Regions from separate parts of the Homo sapiens genome. Here region 1 is linked to region 2. The links are contacts of gene promoters, found by promoter capture Hi-C in human tissues and cell types (Jung and others, 2019). All regions are on one chromosome and are shown on one strand. Each heading gives the region's core, a stretch centred on a gene start or on the middle of the fragment in contact. The rest is flanking DNA. Distances are from core to core; before and after follow the strand shown.

Region 1 (6,694 bases), core at 2,059-4,558, 450 kb after region 2:
TACTCAATGCATTGAGGACACACATGTTTGCCAAGGGATGGGCGTTAGAAAGATAAGAGAAAGGTTTAGGAATGGTAAGCCTTCCCAAATCTCCTAAAACCTTGTGCCTAAGGCTAACTTTGTTTCCAGATCCCAAAAGACAGAAAAGACAGTCCTCCACATTTGCAAGCCAAGATCAAGGTAGCTTGATGGTCTGAGGACAGGATAGTTACAAAGCACAGTTAGATTCTTAAGGTGCCTGCGTGCCTACCATTGGGTCAGCCCCAATCTGAAACCAGCTTCTCCGATTGGGGTTAAAATAACACCAAAACAAAACAAAGCAAAACAAAAAAACAAAAAAATAAACAAGGATGAAGCAACATATGTTGGAAACCTACGTGTATGTTATTTTATTTACTCTTCATCACAATCCCATGATCAGATTGTATATTGTCCCATTTTCCAGATGAAACTGAGGCTCAGAAATATTTAGTGATTTTCCCAGGGTCATGCAAATATACTTAAAGCACTGGGATTCAAACCAGGCCTGTCTGACTCCAAAGCTCCATTCCTCCTCCTGTGCCTCAGGGTTAAAACTCTATCCTAAGGCGGTGGCAGCTGTCCCGGCCAGGGCATTCTGAGAGCCACTTGCAGCTCTTCCATTTACCAGGTTGAGATTTACTTCCTGTCTCTGGGCTTCAATTTTCTCATCTAGAAAACTGGGAGACAGACGAAGTTCTTTGAGGTTCCCTTGCAGGCCTAAGCATCACCGTGTTGGGTGATTCTTCCTTTGATAAGTCAGTGTACAGCTCATTTGATGTGCAAATGTCAAAATGTCAGCAGTGCCATGAACCCTTGAGCATTCGGCTCCTTAGAGAGAAGCCTCTTGAAGGGCGGCAGGAGGTGGGCCACCTTGGACCGGCAAGTCCACAGAGGCCTGGAGAGATGTGGTGCACAGGAGAGAGGTAGATCCTCCAGCTAACCCTGGGATTTCCCGGGGAATGGGCATTTGTGTACCTCCTTGTGGACAGGGCCTGAGCCCATGGCCCGATGATCACCTGAGTTTTTACAAGGTGGTTGAGAGTTTGGGTGTGTTTTTCCTCTCTCCTTTTGAAAACCAAGAGGTCAGCGTGAGTGTAATTCTGACACATGAAATCTGCTCCTTGTTTGGAAACACCCTTTTCAAATAAATCTTGAGATGGGATTAAGAGAACAGTTTTGGCTCGTTTTCAGGACTGTCATCTGTTGAACATCTCCCAGCTCATTTGAAGGAAGTGACAGAAGAGAGTGAGATTTCAAATCAGGGAAATTGGCGACAGGCTCTGCTCAAATTGGCCTCCCCACCTCCAGCGTGCAGCCCGCAGAAAACAAAAGCTCCGGAGTAGGAAAGTGACACAGCGCCACCTCCCGGTAGCCTGGCCGGCCAAGGCCTCTGGCTTAAGCGGGCCTCTGGCCTGCCAAAATGCCTGGGGAGGGAAGAGCTGTGTCTCTGCACTCATAAGATGGGAACAGGGGGGTTCTGGGAGCTCCAAACGTTTCAGTTCACAGTGTGTGCAGTCGTGTGTCTTGCGCATACACACATGCACATAGACAGCCAATTTGAACACCGAGGATTAACTTGTCTTAAAGGGGCAACTCTCTCGTCCATCTACTTTTAGGCAGATTTTAAAGACGATCATAGTAGTTAGCATATGGACTTTGGAGCCTGGTTGCCTGGGTTCAAATCTCAGCTTGGCACTTAATAGCTGTGCAACCTTGGCCAACTTACTTAACCTCTCTGTGTCTGTTTCATCTCCTACAGAATAAGGATAATAAGAGTATCAACCTCAGAGGATCACTGCAAGAATTGAGTGGGATACATATGACGTGCTTAGCACAGTTTGTGGCCCATGGTAAGTGCTCAGTATGTATTAGCTATTTTTGGTATTCAATTAAATATAGCTCACACATTTTTTTTTTCTTCTTTACACCCACCTGTTCGGCCATTTCTAACTGCCTGTTGGCTTATACATCCTATGCAGATGTTTCTGGTTCAAGGAAGATAATGCTAAATCCACAGTTTTGCTGAAATAATTGACCCTACCCAAACGCACACCCTAAACTGAATGAACTACTTGGCAGATTTTGAGAAAAATCATCCTTGGGTAACTCCCATGTATTTTTTTTGTTTTTGTTTTCGAGCAGCCTGGCTGTGCAGTTGGGGCAGTTGATGCTTCAGAGTAAACCCAGGAAGGCTTCATGGGCCTGTGGATGATACATACAGCACTCTCAAATGTTGAGCTTCAACTCATGAGGCAATATTAGTCCTGGATTTTCCTACATTTGTCTGTAGATTGCTCCAGGGACACTGGCAGATGAGGAAAGGGTTTCATTTCAAGCCTTCCTGCTACATTTGAGCCAGAAGGTCTCTGGGAAGCTCCTTCATGGGGCCAGACTTGGGATGTGCATCCATCTTGATGGAAAGTTCTCCCAACCTAGAGAAAAGATGGTGAGGCAACAGGCTGCCAAGGTCAGAGGCTGGTCTTTCCCAAAGTCAACCGTAAATCAAAGCCTCCAAGGTGACCGACCACGTGTCACAGACACCAGCTCTGCAGTCTCTGAGCGGGTGGCACAGGGCTTGATGACAGGAGGCCACCCCTTCCCCAGCCCATCTGCTGCTAGGGAAGACCAGCGTGTGGGCTGTTCATTGCCACCAAGGAGGTTTTCCTGCTGTTTACTGAGGTTTAACTCTCCTTGTAAAGGAGGGCCTGGCCCAAACATCTGTTTCATCAAAGGGGTTGGAGTCTTGGAGACACAAAAGCTTCTCTCAGTGGCTCCATTCTATGGCCTTTATCGCTCCCAGAGTCGTCCTATTAATATGCTGAAACAGCCATGACTTTGCCACTATGAACGTGTCTAGGGAGCACAGCCAGGTTTCAGGGTGAGGAAGGAGAGAAAGGGAGAGTCCTTTGAATCCCCTCAGACTTTACACTTGGCTTCCTCTTATGGGTAAGACTTAACCATGACTCACCTGTTTTAGAATGTTTTGTTAGCCAATCCCTGATTTGCTTGAAACCTCCAAAGTCTCAAGAAAATAGCCTCAAGGGAACTTGGAGCTAAGTCGCAATGTCTCAGGCCTAATAAATAAACTGCATATGAGGACAGCACATGATCGAAAGAGCAAATGCCAGACCGGGAATCTTCAGGTCCAGCACTTGGAAGTCACTGGGATTTTTGCAGAAAACCATGAAGCATTAACGTTTTAAGTTTAAAGGATTAAATAGATAATTTAGGGCTACATCTGACTGTGGAGCCCTGGAGTCTCCTGCTATTTATTGGCTATTTAACTCTGCAGTAGTTACTTCACGTCTCTGAAACTCCATTTCCTCATCTGTCAAAGGGACGGAAAATACTGGGGTGAGGACTTAATGACAAATAATATGTTTTACTCCCTCTAGTGCTTGGCACGTAGACACTCAAACAATGGTAACCAAGTAACAAAAGTTTAAGAGAAATGTGTCAGAGAAGAAGCTAACTTGAGAAATGCTTTTCCATTGAAATTATTATTATTTAAAAAGTTTTGTTTTTGTAAATTGGGAAAAGAGTGCCACAGCTTGATGATAGTGGAGTGGCAGACGTGTTGTATGGCCCGGCTAGGGCAGGCGGCCCTGATATATGCAGCGGTGTGGCTTCCTGTGCTAGGTTAGGGTTCTCAACCTTCTCTACCTATGACAACACACCTATCCAGTGGCATGAGGTTGCCCAACCCACTCTCCTCATTGATGACAGGTTCGAATCCTAGCTCGATCACTAGCTTTGCATTATCTTGGGCAAGTAAATGAGTGATATGAATAGTACCTACCTTCCAGGTTTTGGGGGGTGGGTGGGTAACTGTGATTATGTAGATAAAGCACTGAGGACAGTCTTGAGCACAAAATAAATGCTCAATCCAAAAGAAAAAAATGCGTTCATGATTTCTGTATGATTTTCAGCCCCAGCTATAACCCCGTCTTTTTCACTCAGGGAAGCAATTTGGAAAATAACACTGTGATAGGGATACTCTTGAATCTGCTCAAAAATTGCTAAAACTCATTCACACATAGATTTAATCATTATCAGTAACAAATTATTTGTGAATGACTTCATAACTGTTGTAGATCACAAGTCCTCAAACGCAAATGGGTGCCATACTTTTCTCCAGGCTGCGTGAAATCTGCATTTGCTTCAGGTGGCTGCTGTAACAAATTACCACCAACTTGTTGGCTTAAGCCAATACGATTGTATTATCTTACAGTTCTGAAGCTCAGAAGTCCTAAATGGATGCCAGTGGGCTAAAATCAAGGTGTCGGCCGGGCTATGCTTTTTCTGCAGGCTCTAGGGGAGAATTGTTTGCTTGCCTTTTCCAGATTTTAAAGGCTACCTCCTTCCTTGGCTTGTGGCCACATTCTGTCTTCAAAGCCAGCAATGGTCAGATGAGTCTTTACTCCTATGCCATCTCTCTGACTCTTCTCCACTTAAGATGCCTTGTGATTACACTGAGTTCACCCCAATAATCCAGGATAATTGCCCTATTTTAAGATCAGGTGATTAGCAACCTTAATTCCATTTGCAGTTTCTACTTGCCATATGATACAACAGATTCATAGGTTGTAGGAATTAGGATTGTGGACATCTTTGGGGTTGGCAGCTGGGGGCGGCAGTGGGTATGGGAGGGGCATATTTTGGCAACCACATGGGATAACTTTGAATCTGCCAAAATTACTTAAAATTCATTCACACATATTGTTGCTTTAATCATCAGTAACAAATACAGTGAATAACTCCACAATCAATATTGATAAGAGGGCCTCAAATACGGTGGGGGCCATACTTTTCTCTAGGCTACATGAAATGTGAAAAGATAAGATAATATGGCAATTTTTAACTGAAAATAAACTTACTCCATTTAAAGGACTATTCTTTTGGTATTAAAATGTTGGCAGCAGATGATAGTTGGCTTTTAAAATTGTTGACGTACTTGTCAAATATAAAAGTTAGTAAGTCAGTCAAGACCCAAAGGCTTTCTGGGAAGGAGGGGATGTTGCTGTTTTGTGCAATCAAGGGCAGCAGCCATTACGACCTTCCAGGAGGCAGGCCTCCAGCCGACAGTGTGCAGGGCCACAGGACTCTCAGAGCCTTTCCCTTCTCCATACTTTTCCTTCTCCATTCTTCCCAGGGTTTAGAGAGCTTGGAGCCAAAGGACTGGGATCTGAACCCCTCCTCTGACATGGGACAATTCACTCCTCAGTTTTCATCCATAGAATCAGAATGACAGAAAACCCAGCCTGCTCTTCTCACAGGATGGCAAGGAGAACCAAACTAGAAGAGTGCAGTAAAGTGTAAAGTGCTGTACAAATGGGGATGGTTGTTTTTATAGCTGAAACTTACACTCTTAGTTTCTGGATCTTTCTATAATGTTTATTGAGTGGGTGAGAGAAAATGATGAAGGCCCCAGGGGGTACAATTAAGCCTTTAGGGAATAGCAGTTAGAAAAATGCCATTTTCCTCCCTAAAAACGAAAACAAACAAATCTTTAGGGTTTTTTTTTAAATGGTAAAATACACATAACATAAATTTGTCATCTTACGCATTGTTAGGTGTACAGTTCAGCAGTGTTAAGTACATTCATATTGCTGTGCAACCCATCTCCAGGACATTTCCATCTTGCTAGAAGGGAATTCTGTGCCCATGGACAACAACTCCCCATTTTCCACTGTCCTCAGACCCTGGCAACCATCACTCTGCTTTCTGTGTCTATGAATTTGACTAAGTACCTCAAATAAGTGGAATCACGCAGGATTTGTCTTTCAGTGATTGGCTTATTTCACTTAGTGTAATGTCCTCAAGGTTCATTCATATAGTTAGTCTGTGTCAGAATTCCCTTCCTTTTTAACACTGAATAATATTCCACTGTATGTATATGCCACATTTTGTTTATGCATTCATCTGTCCACGAACAACTTGGGTGGATTCCACTTTTCCGCCATTGTGAATGCTGCTGCTATGAGTGTAGGTATACAAATATCTTTTCAAGACCCTGCTTTCAATTCTTTTCGGTATGTACCCAGTAGTGCAATTGCTGGATCATACGGTAATCATATTTTTAATGTTTCAAGAAACCGCCATACTGTTTTCCATAGTGGCTGTACTATTTCACATTTCCACCAACAGTGTACGAGGTTTCTAACTTTTCTATGTCCTTACCAACACTTGTTTGTTTTTTTTGACAGTAGCCATCCCAATGGGTGTGAGATAGTCCTAATTTTACTTTTTTAATCACAAAAGTAATACTAGCTCATAGTAAAAATGTTGAATAGGTGCAGAAAGGCAAAGAAACAAAATTCACCTACTTGCTCCTTACTTCCTCTTACTTCTCAGAGATAGCCACAATTGTATTGATGTCTACCTATTTCTATAGCATACATGCCATTCCATACTTTTAAATTTTCACTTAATAATCTATCTTGGACGTCTTTTTATATTAATCCCTATAGATTGACCTCATTCCTTTTCACAACCACAGAATATTCCAATGTATCAATGGACTATAATTTAAACAACTTCTCAACTTCCTATTAGTGGACACTTAGTTGATTTTCAGAACTTTAAAAAAAAAAAAACAGCAATGAGAGACCATGTAGCAGCAATGATGAGTACAGAGCATGAAGCCCAACTGTTTTGGTTCAAATTCCAACTC
Region 2 (6,171 bases), core at 3,506-6,005:
AAACAGGTAAAAGAAATCTGTGGTGCTACAACTCAGGACTATAGTTTCTCTTTGTGAGTATAATGACAGGAAGGAGGCAAAAAAGGAATTACCGGAGGTTGAGGAACTCCCTCTGTGTAGACATGACCTTAGTATTCATTCCTTCAATCATGCTGCCAGAATACCAGCAGGCCCCGTAGTGAACCTTCACAGTATCTCTGCTATATGCTTTACCTGCACAGACACAACAGTGATATGGACTCCAGGGCTAGTGAAGCCACTGAAAAAACAACTGAAGAGGTGTCCACTTGTATCAGAAGGTGCTGGTTGCCTACCATGTTCATTATATGTTTTCTGGTGTATCTCAAAGTGGTTTCCTGCAGGATTTACAACAGTCAATCAAGGAAGTTATGGGAAACATTGTGGACATGGAAAAAATAAAAAATAAAAAACGTCGGGAGGGAATAGTTGTTTAAGATAGGCACCTTGGAGAAATTCAAGAGTTAACAGACACCACACCAGAGGCATTAACAGAAGATGACTTGATGGAGATGAATGCTTCCAAACAAGTGCCAGATGATGAGAAAGAAGTAGAAGAAGCAGTGCCAGAAAACAAACTGACATTAGGCAATCTGGCAGAAGTCTTCCAGTTATTCAAGACTGCTGTGACTTCTTCTGACATGGACCCCTATTATAACACAGATACTAAAACTAAAGCAAACAGTGGAAGAAATGGTACTGTACAAAAACATTTTTAGAGAGCTGAAAAAGCAAAACAGACAAATTAGTATGTATTTCCATAAAGCTATATTGACTGCGTCTACCTCTCCTTCCTCCCCTCCCACCTTCTCTGTCTCTGGCACCCTTGAGACTACAAGACCAACCCCTCCTCTTCCTCCTTCTGCTCAGACTACTCAACATGAAAAATGTCAGAACGAAGACCTGTATAATGATCCACCTGCACTTAATGCATGGCAAATATATTTTCTTCCTATGATTTGATTAACATTTTCTCTAGCTTACTTTATGGAAAGAATGCAGTACATAATACATATACAAATTATGTGTTAATCCACAGATGTCATTGGTACAGCATCCAGTAGTCAAAAGTAGACTATTAGCAGTTAAGTTTGGGAGGGGTCAAAAGTTATATGCGTGTTTTCAACTACACGGGTGTGGGGGTCGACACCCCTGATCCGCACACTGTTCAAGGATCAACTGTACTTTATTGACCTATTTGCCCACGTATCTTCCCCAACTGTGAACTCAAAGAGTACTGACACAGTATTTTTTTCTCCTGTAACCTGAGCTCTGGTGCACTTCCTAGAATTTAGTATGTCCTTCATAAAGAATTAATTAAGAACGCACCTAAACATATAACTTTTTTTTTTTTTTTTTTTGAGACACAGTCTCGCTGTGTCGCCCAGGCCTGGAGTGCAGTGGCGCAATCTCGGCTCACTGCAAGCTCTGCCTCCCGGGTTCACCCCATTCTCCTGCCTCAGCCTCCTGAGCAGCTGGGACCACAGAAGCCCGCCACCATGCCCAGCTAATTTTTTTGTATTTTTTAGTAGAGACGGGGTTTCACCATGTTAGCCAGGAAGGTCTCGATCTTCTGACCTTGTGATCTGCACGCCTCGTCCTCCCATAGTGCTGGAATTACACGCATGAGTCACTGTGCCCAGCCAACATATAACTTTTAACTCTTCCTTTCCATGAATACTTTATTTATTCTCGTGTTTTATATTCAACTCTGCTACTTGCTGGTAAGTTCAAGAATTTGAAATTATTTGGGAGCAAAGATTTTATCTTTGTTAAAAAAAAAAAAAAAAAAGGCGGCTGGGCGCGGTGGCTCACACCTGTAATCTCAACACTTTGGGAAGCCGAGGCGGGTGGATCACAAGGTCAAGAGATTGAGACCATCCTGGCCAACATGGTGAAAGCCTGTCTCTACTCAAAATACATAAATTAGCTGGGCATGGTGGTGCATGCCTGTAGTCCCAACTACTCAGGAGGCTGAGGCAGGAGGATCATTTGAACCCAGGAGGCGGAGGTTGCAGTAAGCCGAGATCATGCCACTGCACTCCAGCCTGGCAACAGAGCGAGACTCCGTCTAAAAAGAAAACAAAAAACAAACAAACAAAAAACCCATATTTGGCTGACGCGCTGGCTCACACCTGTAATTCCAGCACTTTGGGAGGCCGAGGTGGGCGGATCACGAGGTCAGGAGACTGAGACCATCCTGGCTAACACGGTGAAACCCCATCTCTACTAAAAATACAAAAAATCAGCAGGGCGTGGTGACGGGCGCCTGTAGTCCCAGCTACTCGGGAGGCTGAGGCAGGAGAATGGTGTGAACCCAGGAAGGCACAGCTTGCAGTGAGCCGAGATCGCGCCACTGCACTCCAGCCCGGGGAACACACCTAGACTCCGTCTCAGAAAAAAAAAACAAAAGCATATTTATCCTACGATAGTGTTATACCAGATATATATCCTAATTTCATGAATACTCTGGTGTGTATATAGATCATCTTTCCAGAATTATAGTCCAAGTCAAAGTTGGAAAATAATTCTTCAGTTCTAGTAATGAGGCAAACAAAGCACCACTATCATCATCTTGGGAAATCTAAAGGGTTAAGTAAATACAGTAGGAAACAAGGGAATATGTAATACAGAAGCCTATAAAAACGAATTATACCATTATGTTAAGTGAAATAAGTCAGACACAGAAAGACAAATATCACATGATCTTACTCATAGGTGGAATCTAATAGTTCATCGCACAGAGAGTACAATGGTGTTTACCAGAGGCCAGGATGGTTGGCAGGGGGGATGGGGAGAATTTGGTCAAAGATACATAATATCAGTTAGATAGGAGGAATAAATTTCAAGAAATCTATTATATAACATGAATTTATAGCAAGCTGACTATAGTTAATAATCATATATTGTATTCTTTAAAAAAATGTAAACAGTGTAGATGTTATGTACTCTTACCACAAAAATGATAACTATGTGAGGTAATGCATTGCTAATTAGCTAGATTTAACGATTCCGGAATGTACATACACTTCATAGCATCATGAGGTACACAAAACAATGCCATCTGTCAAAAAATAATAATTATATGTAGCATTTCAAAAAGTTCACAGCATCAAAAATATTTGTAGGGGTGGGGGGACAGAGAGCATCAGGAAGAATAGCTAATGGATGCTGGGCTTAATACCGAGGTGGTGGGTTGATCTGTGCAGCAAACCACCACAGCACACGTTTACCTATGTAACAAACCTGCACATGAAGCCCAGAACCTAAAACAAAAGTTGAAGAAAAAAAAAATTCAAGACGTTTCTATCTGATATTGGACTGCTTTGTCACTTTTTCTTTTGGTCTTCCTAGTGCTTATTTACTACAGGATAAAATTAGCACATGCTATTTAATGTGTTCATTTTAAGTACTATGTTGTTTTCTATGTGTTAATTTTATCTCCTCCAGGTGAGACCATTTTTATTACCATAGGTCTAAAATGACAAGATTAAGTCCAAACAGACAGTAATCACTCAACAGCTATTTATTGAGTAACTTAAAGATTCAATATGAAAGCAACCTTGATCAAAGCTTTCCAGTTGATATATTGTGAAACAGGGTTTTTTCCTAAACATGATTCTAAAAAACAAGCAAACAAACAAAAATCCTCCCCAAATGAAAAACTCCAGTCACTATTTAGCAATACTAATTTCAATTTATCAAACAGAATCAGCCCAAAAATTTCAACAGGTCAGTGAGATTTAAAACAATTCGATGGCAAGAATTTCAATGAGGTTTGGCTCTAATTAAAAGGTATCACAGATCACTGTCAAAGTCAATAACTCAGTAGTGCGGTAATGATTTGGGAGTCCTTTTCAATTTAGACATTTGTCAATCATGATTGCCTTTAAACATCAGTTACCCACTGTCCCTGCTCAGTTTTGAAAAAAAAATTAAATACAAAAATACAACTCAAAATACATGTTTTTTCCACACATAAAATTGGTATTTTAGTAATAAACTCTCGATTCAGGGTTCATAAAATAAAGTAGGTATACTTCTAATTCTTCCTAGCAGTTTTTTGGGGGAAAGAAACCCTAAGTATTTTCTGTTATTTGCAGCTGCTTTAACAGCAAACGACAATTAAATGTGTGAACAAGGTTGTCAGAGTAACACTTGTCATTTACACCGCTTAGGAAAGACATCCAAGACTTCCAGAAACACTAATTAAAATTAACAAAAGCTTCTTATCGGAACTTGTCAGAGAGCTATAGTTTGTCAGACACAGGAAAACCAGATAGCCTCAAAGTTCAAGAGTTTTCGCTCTAAGGTTTAATTCCAAACCACCTACCACTAGGCACTAACGAACTAAGCCCAGACGCTCAGCAACCAACTCATTAAGGTAAGAGATCCCATCCTTTCCATATAACACAAAATTAAGAAAAAGACATCGTGGGGAAGGCGGAGTGAATTTTCTATCAGAAATCAGAAGATAAATGAGCAGGAAAAAAGTCTATCCTCACACACAGCGGAGAAAGGTGCTAGCAATTGCTTGATAAGCCCTAAGGGTTTATTGTTTCACCAACCTTTTCTTTAACTCAATGTGAATGAAGGCACTCAAAAGGAGAAGAACGTTACGTGATATTACCTACCTCGGGCCCCAAAGAACCCTGGAGACCCTCAACCAGGACACAGGTGGGCCTTTCTCACCTGGGCCCCGCCGAAGTCGACCGTCCTTTCGTAGGGCGCACTTTTCAGCAATACGCCTTCCGATTGGTTGGCTCGGGACTGACGTCTCAGTCCTATTGGTTACGAGAGCCGCGGTTGGGGCGAGGAGGCGGGAGTTTGGCACTGGTTCTGATAGGACGGGTGTTTGCGTTCCCAGAGTTCCTATTGGGTTAACACTGGAGGCTCTAAGATGGCGGCAGTGGCAACCTGCGGTAGTGTTGCCGCGAGTACTGGGTCTGCAGTGGCGACAGCCAGCAAGAGCAACGTCACCAGTTTCCAGAGGAGGGGTCCTAGAGCCAGCGTGACCAACGACAGCGGCCCTCGACTGGTGTCCATTGCGGGCACGCGACCGTCGGTGCGGAATGGACAGCTGCTGGTATCAACCGGGCTCCCAGCCCTAGACCAGCTCTTAGGTCGGTTCAGAGCGGAGATCTGGGCTCAGCCGAGGGGAAACTTAGGGAGGGGACCTGTCGGGGAAGCCACTTTGACCCCACATCTCTTTCTGACCCCTAAACCTTCGGAGGAGGAGAGAATAGCCTGGTCTGATTGAGATGGAGGGGAATACGGGTTGTGTGGAGACTTCTGAGCGCTGTTAACTAAACATGTTTTAGTGCCCTCGCTCTCTATTTCATTCCCTGCCCTCCAACCCCTTTTCATATTACGGAGGAATTCGTACATGCTTTTTACCCTGAAATGCTTTCTAGTCAAGGGAAGACATTAATTTATGGAGATGGTTTGGCTTTCATTCAGGATACCTCCCTTCTGCTTTCTCCAGGCAGCTCACGGTTTAGACCAGCCTGCAAAAGTTTTTATAATTGTGAGAGACAGACTTCATTAGAAGATGCTGGAAAAAAATGATTTCCCCTCTTTGACCGTCAGACTGCCTGTTCTCTGGTTCTAAATCTTAAAACATTTTGGCTTTAAGAGAGCGAATGTTAAAGGCTTATGTTGACACATAATCCTTATAAAGTATTTTGAGCCTGTCGTTGATATTTAGATAGTGTCTGCGTTAAATCTGTGTATATATTTTTTATTTTTTCTATATACATTTTGCTTCCCAGTATTGATTGCTGCTACATTCCATACGACATCTTTAAATTTAACTCACATTTTAACGAGAAAAGTCTAGTTCTTAGGCTTTCCTTTAAAATCTCTGGAATTTTTTATGAGAAGCCTGCTGAAGAATATGCTTGTTTCATAACTGTTATATTCAAAGGAATGACCAGATTAAGTTGGTAGGACAGATTTGCTGTGTTAATAAAGCTTCTAGATTAATTTCTGAATGCTGTTTCATTAAAACCCCGTCTGTGTTTACATAACTTTTTTCATAGTGTGTGATATGTGTCTGTTAAATCTTGTACACTTTCATAAAATATAACTCATTGCTTGTTCTTGTACTTCGTTTGACATTTCTTTCGGTTATTTTCCCCTCAAAGTAGGCTT

Evidence for each region. Contacts are between HindIII fragments. The study calls those that stand out against the background at their distance.
Region 1: a contact is called between a fragment that was not itself captured here and the fragment with the promoter of IMMP1L in region 2, in 1 of the 25 tissues and cell types used here (heart left ventricle).

Annotation. Positions count from the first base shown.
Region 1 is chr11:31,956,935-31,963,628 of GRCh38, forward strand. No RefSeq gene overlaps it. Among named protein-coding and RNA genes, the nearest start is that of LINC03031, 81 kb to the right of the region's middle. The HindIII fragment of the contact is 7,890 bases long and covers 1-6,694 here.
Region 2 is chr11:31,504,867-31,511,037 of GRCh38, forward strand. IMMP1L (inner mitochondrial membrane peptidase subunit 1) reads right to left here and starts at 4,756. Exons shown (of 6, transcript NM_001304274.2): 1 at 4,653-4,756. ELP4 (elongator acetyltransferase complex subunit 4) reads left to right here and starts at 4,901. Exons shown (of 10, transcript NM_019040.5): 1 at 4,901-5,141. The coding sequence starts at 4,919. RefSeq lists enhancers at 4,894-5,783, 4,916-5,205. The HindIII fragment of the contact is 2,588 bases long and covers 3,918-6,171 here.